Regions from separate parts of the Homo sapiens genome. Here region 2 is linked to region 1. Evidence: promoter capture Hi-C in 16 types of primary human blood cells and fetal thymus (Javierre and others, 2016). All regions are on one chromosome and are shown on one strand. The core of a region is centred on a gene start or on the middle of the fragment in contact, and the rest is flanking DNA. Distances in the headings are between cores, read along the strand shown. Region 1 holds the start of DNAH2 (dynein axonemal heavy chain 2). Region 2 overlaps CNTROB (centrobin, centriole duplication and spindle assembly protein).

What was found. The method cuts DNA at HindIII sites, captures the fragments that hold promoters and counts their contacts. A CHiCAGO score of 5 or more calls a contact.
Region 2: a fragment that was not itself captured here is called in contact with the fragment with the promoter of DNAH2 in region 1 in 1 of 17 cell types (endothelial precursors); the score reaches 5.1 in endothelial precursors.

Annotation. Positions count from the first base shown.
Region 1 is chr17:7,715,399-7,719,005 of GRCh38, reverse strand. DNAH2 (dynein axonemal heavy chain 2) reads right to left here and starts at 1,262. Exons shown (of 86, transcript NM_020877.5): 1 at 207-1,262. The HindIII fragment of the contact is 13,987 bases long and covers 1-3,607 here.
Region 2 is chr17:7,933,986-7,937,448 of GRCh38, reverse strand. It overlaps CNTROB (centrobin, centriole duplication and spindle assembly protein), which reads right to left. Exons shown (of 19, transcript NM_053051.5): 2 at 3,227-3,311; 3 at 2,903-2,984; 4 at 2,304-2,460; 5 at 967-1,083; 6 at 632-748; 7 at 187-285. Among named protein-coding and RNA genes, the nearest start is that of CNTROB, 3.5 kb to the right of the region's middle. The HindIII fragment of the contact is 1,312 bases long and covers 1,189-2,500 here.

The DNA of each region.
Region 1 (3,607 bases), core at 13-2,512:
CTCTACCCTCCAGGACCATGAGTGAGTGAGAGAGGATCAAGGAAGGGGTGCACATCCCCCATCCTTTGTCACTGTTCAATCATTCAAGCAAACCAAGATGATTTTCCTATGTACCTCTTTTCCTCCCAAGTTAAATGGAAATATGCTCCTCCCAATCCCACTAAAATCTGCAACATCTGTAAACAGAGAAAAACAGTATTTGCCACCTGGGTCTATCGCTTTGAAGTCCTGAGGGGCAGGAACACTGTTTTGTGTGTACTGAGGTCTCTTAGCAGAGTTGGCTGAGGAACTCTGTGCTAATGGTTAAGATCAGTCAGGATCATTTATTTGACTCAAAATGCCCTGAGAACAGATTGGAAGAAAGAAGGACAAAAGTCATCCAATCATAAATTTCAAATTGTGTCATGAGGAAAAAGCAATTGGGGCACGAGGAAGGTCACAGTGGTGCCTCTCTCAGAAAGGTAGGATGGCAGGAAGCGGGGATCTCGGACAGGTGCTCAGAATCCCAGGCGCAAAGTCTGAGGCGCTGGGCACTCTCTTTTCATTAGGCTGCAGCCTAACGGCACCTGTGGCTCTCCTTCCTCATCCCCACAGGCTGCCACAGGCATTGATCTCAGGTTATGAATTTCAAACTTGAAGGATTTGTACTTTGCTCCAAGGAAAAACGTTCTGTTAGGCCAGCAAATCAATAAAACCAACTACAGCAAGGAGGCTTCCTCCATCAGTCTCCAGAGAAGCATCAAGCTGCGCTTTCCTGCCTCAAACTAGAGCCTGAGGCGCATGCACCGTGGGGTTCACCACGCGATCCCACACCGCAGGCCCCAGGAGGAACTGCTCTGCTAAGTCGGGGCTCACTCTAGTACTAGGAAATACCGCAGGGGCCAGCAGTATTTATCCTGCAGTATAAATCCAGCAGTATTTATCCAGCAGTATTTATACCAGCAGCTGGTATCCTTAAACTGGTTACCAGCAGGCAAATTTCCCCTCAGAATGGCTCTTCCCCCCCAGCTGTCACAACTGCCCCTTCTCCTCCCCCTCCCCCACACAAATATTCCTTGCTCCCTCTCCCTCCACAACTGCCTCTTCTCCCCAACAACTGTCCCTTCCTACCCCGACACTACTGCCCCTTCTCCCCAGCACTCCTTCCCTCCTTCCCTCTGCCCCCGACACACACCTTGCCACGCTGACCCTCCCCTCCCTAGACCGACCGATGGGCCACTCTAAGAAGTTGCCCCTCGCAGCCCTCTCGGGCCGGCGTCTGCACGCGTCCCCATGGCAACCCCGGGCAGGGAGGGGCGAGTGGCCGGTGTGCGGCCCCTCGGAGCCCGCCTCCTCCGCGCAGGCGCCCTGGATCCCTGCTTCGCGGCCCCACCCCGCCCAGGTCTACCCCTCAGGGACCCAGGGCTTGAAGGCTCCGGGACTAAAGGAAAGTAGCCACATCTGGCGAGCCGAAGGGTGCGGGGGGCCTGGTGTCAGGACCCAGCTGGAAGGGCTGGGGCGAGAGACAGTGAGCCACCGCCCCGCAGGACATTGAAAAGGCAGGGAGAACCCAATCGCCCGACCCCGCGCCCAGGTCTGTGCGCCCCAGCCGGAACGGGTCCAGCAGATGGCGCCGGGCGCCAGGCCGGCGAGGGATATTCGCGATGTAGAAGGCGTTCCAGGATTTCCAGGCAGCCGTGGGTGCAGCTGGATCCGGGGGAAAAACCGGGCCTGGAGCACCCTTGCCCTCCTGCTCCTTCCCCCTTCTTAGTTCGGATTGGGGTCTAGGATTGCGGGGGGGCGGCGCGGGGCGGGGAAAGGGAGGGAAGACGGGAACTGGAGTTTTGGGAATCTGAGGATTGGCTTTCGAAGGCATCGCTGGTTTTTGGGGGGGATGAGAGGCGGGGACTCCCTGGGGAAGGTGACCGGGCCTGGGAGGGGCTTCGCTCTCCATAGGAACAAAGGCTGCGTCGTGAGAGAGGAGGCGAGAGGGGAGGGCTATGAGGGCCGGGGTACATCTCCGAGGGTGCCAGGGGGCGCTGCGGGCCGGGGCTGCTAGAAGGCGCCTGGAAGACCGCTGTACCTGGTGCCGGGAGGAGCTTTGGGGAGACCTGGGAAATACAGGGAGGAAGCCGAGTGGGGGGATGGGAAGGCGCCCTCCCTGTTTCCATCAATAGTGCCTAATTAAGACAAAGCCAGCAGCGAGCCCACTGATTACATTTCCATGAGGAGCGAAATTTATGACATTTTCTTTGCTGGATGAGGAGAAGAGAAGCTGGCACCTCAGTTCCCCCATTTTCTGTTTGGCGTTCACACCTAACAGATCTCATTATGCCAGCCTGGCACTACCAGGAGTGGCAGTCCCTGGTACTCCTGAAGAGCAAGTGGATTAACCACACCCTATCCCAGCGCTGACCTCACCCTCCCACCTACCGTATCTTTATTCCCAGAAGTGTCAACCCTTTCCCTCCCCCCGACCCCCAATAATTCCTCCTGCCCAGCCAGACTCCTGTTGCTGACAGCAGGAATGGAAGGAGAGGAGTACCGCCCACCCCAAAACCAGCTGCACAGCTAGCACAGCTAAGATGGAACGTGGAGGTGTTCCTCTAGCCAGATAGGCCATGGGTGGCAGACAGAGGTGATGTGGTTGGCCAGAACCCCTAGGGAAAAGTCCCAAAGGAGTGAAAATTTGCTGGAGGCGTGGGGTGGGGAGCCTCAGGGGCAAGGTTCATGGGTCCCTCGGGGAAAGGAACTTTGCACAGACCCCATTTCTTTTCTTAAACCCCCCTCCCCAACTGTGGCTGTGCCTACGGATCCCAGCCCCCCACATTATGCTAAATAGGTAATCAAACATCTCGCTTTGCTAATTACTGCTCAATCCGATTAAACGCTGCTGAAGCTCATCAACAGAGGTGGAGGTAGGGGGAAGGGACGAAGGCGGGGCAACCACAGCTAGCTATGATGGGGGTCTTTTCCCCAGGGGCTCTTCGGGGCTAGAGAAACAGCCAGGGTTGCAAGACCGTGTACATCCCAAAGGAAAGGGCAGAAGAGTTGTGACCTCGAGCCTCAGCCTTGCTGCACCTCCCAGCCACGGCCCTTTTCCTCCTCCCAGAACCTTCATTACCCTCCGAACCCAGGCATCCGGCCATTCCCACAGCTCCCCACACACATCCCTGTCCCAGATTTAATAAGTTCTGTTCCCTCATTGTCAATATTTGATTTCTCAGAGCCATCTCCACGGAGAGGGGGGTGGGGGATCTTTCCTTGCCTCCCCCCTACTTTGGCCCTCTTTTGCCCACCCCCAGTCTCTTTGTGCCCCCAACCTTCTCTGAACTTGCTGACTTAATGAAATGATATTAAAGTCTTAAGCAACTCCAAAAGAATGGTTGTTATGGTGAAGGGAGTGGGCAGGACGCCTGGGTCCCGGAGGGGAGCAAAGGCTGAGGAGGGGGAAAGGGAGCCAGAGGCTAAGGTCTAGAGACCCCAGTCCCTAGTGGGGAACAGCAGATTTGGGGTGAGCTGGGGGCCAGACCTCTGGATCTTGGCTGGAAGCAGGGGATGAGGACTGGGGGCTAGGAGAAGGTGGAAAGAGAGGTCCATTCCAGGGGTCAGGGTCTCGGCCTGCTGT
Region 2 (3,463 bases), core at 595-3,094, 220 kb before region 1:
ACTTGGTAGCAGAGCCTTTTTTTTTAATAGAATATCTAGCTGAATTAGTGTTCTAAGGAACACACTTTGGGAAACAGTGCTCTGGTGCAACTCAAATTATAATCTCCCACAATCCACCAATAGCCCACAGCTCTCTAGAAGTAATTAACAGCTTCCAGTGGAATTAACCCAGTCCAATCTTCTCACCAGTGTCTCTCTTTCCCGTTGCTGCAGTCTGGCACTTTCCTGCTCACGATTCAGGGCCTCCATGGCCTCAGAAAGGCTTTGTTCCAGGCGGGTTACTGTCTTTCAGGAAGAGAGGAATACAGGGCAGAGGAACTGTGGGAAATCTGTGTGTGCTATATTTTATAAAGCATTGACAATGTAAACTTGAAACTTCACAGTTAACTAAATGACTAAGGGGCCAGATAGAAGACTACATGGTGTGGGAAAAATTAAGACATTGATGATTCAAGTTGGACAGCAGAAACGGTTAAAGGAGAAGAAAGGAGGGATGAGAAGAAATGTCAGGACAGCCACTACAAGACTGAGGTCAATCTGTTGGAAACCCTAATTCCAGAGCTATTTCTGCCCCTTTCCATCTTGAGATCTGTGACTCAGGTTCTAATGCCATATGCTCCAGGGCGCTCACCTCCTGCTGCTTGCTTCTGGTGAGCTCTGCTGCCTGGTGTTCCTCTTGAAGTCCCCTGAGAACCTCTGTCCGCTCAGCCTCATGCCGGTTCCAGCCCTCCACCACACGGGCCAGGGTCTTAGGTAGGGCAAGTAAGATGAAATTTCAAAATAACTTTTTTGCCTCTTTCTACCCACAGGGGCAGGGTCAACAGCCATCTTCTCCCAACAGTCAGCAAACCAACCCCTTGCCCAGCTCTCAGCATGTACCAAGAAACATTGGTTGGCCACCCACTTATTTATTATTCCTTAATGCTCTTCATGGAGAGACCCACCCACATTTTGCTACCCTGGTACCTTGTCCAGTTGTTCAATCATGGTATCTTTCTTGCGGTCGGCAGCCACAGCCACGGCTAATTGTTGCTGTAGCTCTAACACTCGGGTCTGCAGGCTCTGAATATGGCGCTCACAATGCTGGGGAAAAGGGTGAGGAGTCTGGGTGTTGCCCATCTTTGGTATGACCACAGCACCAAACTTTCCAGCTCCTCTAGTGGGGGAGTGGGCTGGAGCCAAGAAGCTTGGGTCCCAAGAACAGAATAGGTCTGGAGAGGGAGAATCAGGAAAATTCTGAAGCAAGCACCTTGAGGCTCAAGATCTCCAACATGTTTCTGTACCTTTTCAGGAGATAAGTGCTTAGATTCCAGGCTCCTCCTTTTCCTGGATCTCCTGAGTAAAAATCCCATAAACCTTTTGGCAGAGATGCAGCAGCCCACACAGCAAAATGTGCAAAGTTACTCCTACCTTCAGAAGCTCATTGGACACAATGAATAAACACAGCAAGGATAAAGGGGAAAGCCTTTCATTCATGCCAAGGGGTTTAACATGGAGAAAGAGAGGCTTCCAAAAATGGCAACCAGTGATTTTGACTTTTCCTCTCCTTTGTCTATTTCTCTGTCCCCTTCAGACACTAAGGCAGAGGCTCACAGAGATAAAGCTCAGTATATCACCAGTAGCTGTAAATCCTGTGCACAAGCTAGCAGAGTTTGTGTCCATTCGACAAACACAGAGTGTTTCTGTGTTATGTATATTCTAGACCTTAGGCAGCCAGTACTAAGACAAACAAGATACGGACCCTCAAATTTTAGAGAGGAGAAAAAAACAAGATATATCAGAACGATAAGCTACATGAAAGAAATAAGAAGGCGATCTGACTACTTGGAAAGGAGGTGGTGCCATATTAGATGGAATGGTCAAAAAAGCCCTCCTCAGAAAAACATTTAAGTCCCAGCTTTCAGGCTCTTAACCCTCAGCCCTTTTCTTTTTTAGTTTTTTTTTTTTGAGACGGAGTCTCGCTCTGTCGCCCAGGCTGGAGTGCAGCGGCATGATCTCGGCTCACTGCAAGCTCCGCCTCCCAGGTTCACGCCATTCTCCTGCCTCAGCCTCCCGAGTAGCTGGGACTACAGGCACCCACCACCATGCCCGGCTAATTTTTTCTATTTTTAGTAGAGACGGGTTTCACCGTGTTAGCCAGGATGGTCTCGATCTCCTGACCTCGTGATCCGCCTGCCTCAGCCTCCCAAAGTGCTGTGATTACAGGCGTGAGCCACCACGCCAGGCCCCCTCAGCCCTTTTCAACACTTGGGTCCCCTCTTTCTAATCTTTGCTGCTTTCGAAAGGAAGCGTTTGCATCTTACCTTGCGGCGGGTATGCTCTGAATCCAATGCATCTCTCAGCCCCTGAAAATCTGGGGGATTGAGTGGAGGCCCTGGCCGAAGGCTGGTGTAGCGGGGAAACAGCTCCTCCAGGGCTTGGGCTGAGCTAGATGGAGACAAGTCTTGCAGGGGCCGGGTGCTGAGCAAATCAGGTAGAGAATGTTAGGGCTGGGAAAGCTTTTGGAATCCACTTGTCCAACTGTGATATTCTACAAATGAGGAAACTGAGACCCAGAGAGGGCAAGAGACTTGTCCAAAGTCGTAAAGCTATATAACCATAGTGCTATAAATAACACACAGGTCTGTGATTCACTTAAAGGTTTCAGCAGAAACAAGCTAACTCTTTAGAGGGGAAGAATGACTGCAGGTTAAGAGAAAGCCAGGTACTAGGCAACAGATACCTGTGTTCCTGAAGGAGTAAAGGGGGCAGGAGACAGTAGAAAAAGATGAAAACTGAAAGGCAAGTGATAAGCCTCTTGGGTTCTTAAGAGGTACAAAAGCAATAAAGGGAGAAATAAGGAACAAAACACCTGGATTTCCAAGAAAGCAAACAAGCTAGGAGAACCACAAGGAGAACTCACTTGAGCAAGGTGGCTGTGCTATCACTGTCAAAGGAGTCCTCTTCCCGTCTCTCTGAGCCAGCGCCAGGAATGAGAGGATCCCCTGCAGGCAGCCAGAGGGACCCCAAAGCCAGAGTCAGGTAATGACAAAAACAGGGGCCACCTGAAGAGAAAAGGCCTTCCTTTCCAGTTCCCTCACTCCTTCACCCCCTCTCCCAAAGAACGGGAGACTTTTCTCCTGAAATCTCTTGCTCAGAGGTTTTCCTGCCTGCTTCCTCTGTCCACTTTCTCCCACCCCTTACATCTAGGTTCTCCTTCATAGTTCTAGGGAAGGGGCTTACTCACGATAGGCTGTATCACGTGAGGTTTGGAGCATGGTCTGGAGCTGACCCCGAACACTTTCCATCTCAAAGATATGCTTAGAACCATCCTGGAAAAAAGCCACATGGAAATCAGATGCAGTCTGTGTTATCTATCTCCTACCTATTGCCAGGGTAGAATTTTCACTCCAGCACTTTGGAAAACAAGAAAAACCAAACGGATCCAATAAGGGATGTCCTAAACTTGAATCAGAAATTCAAA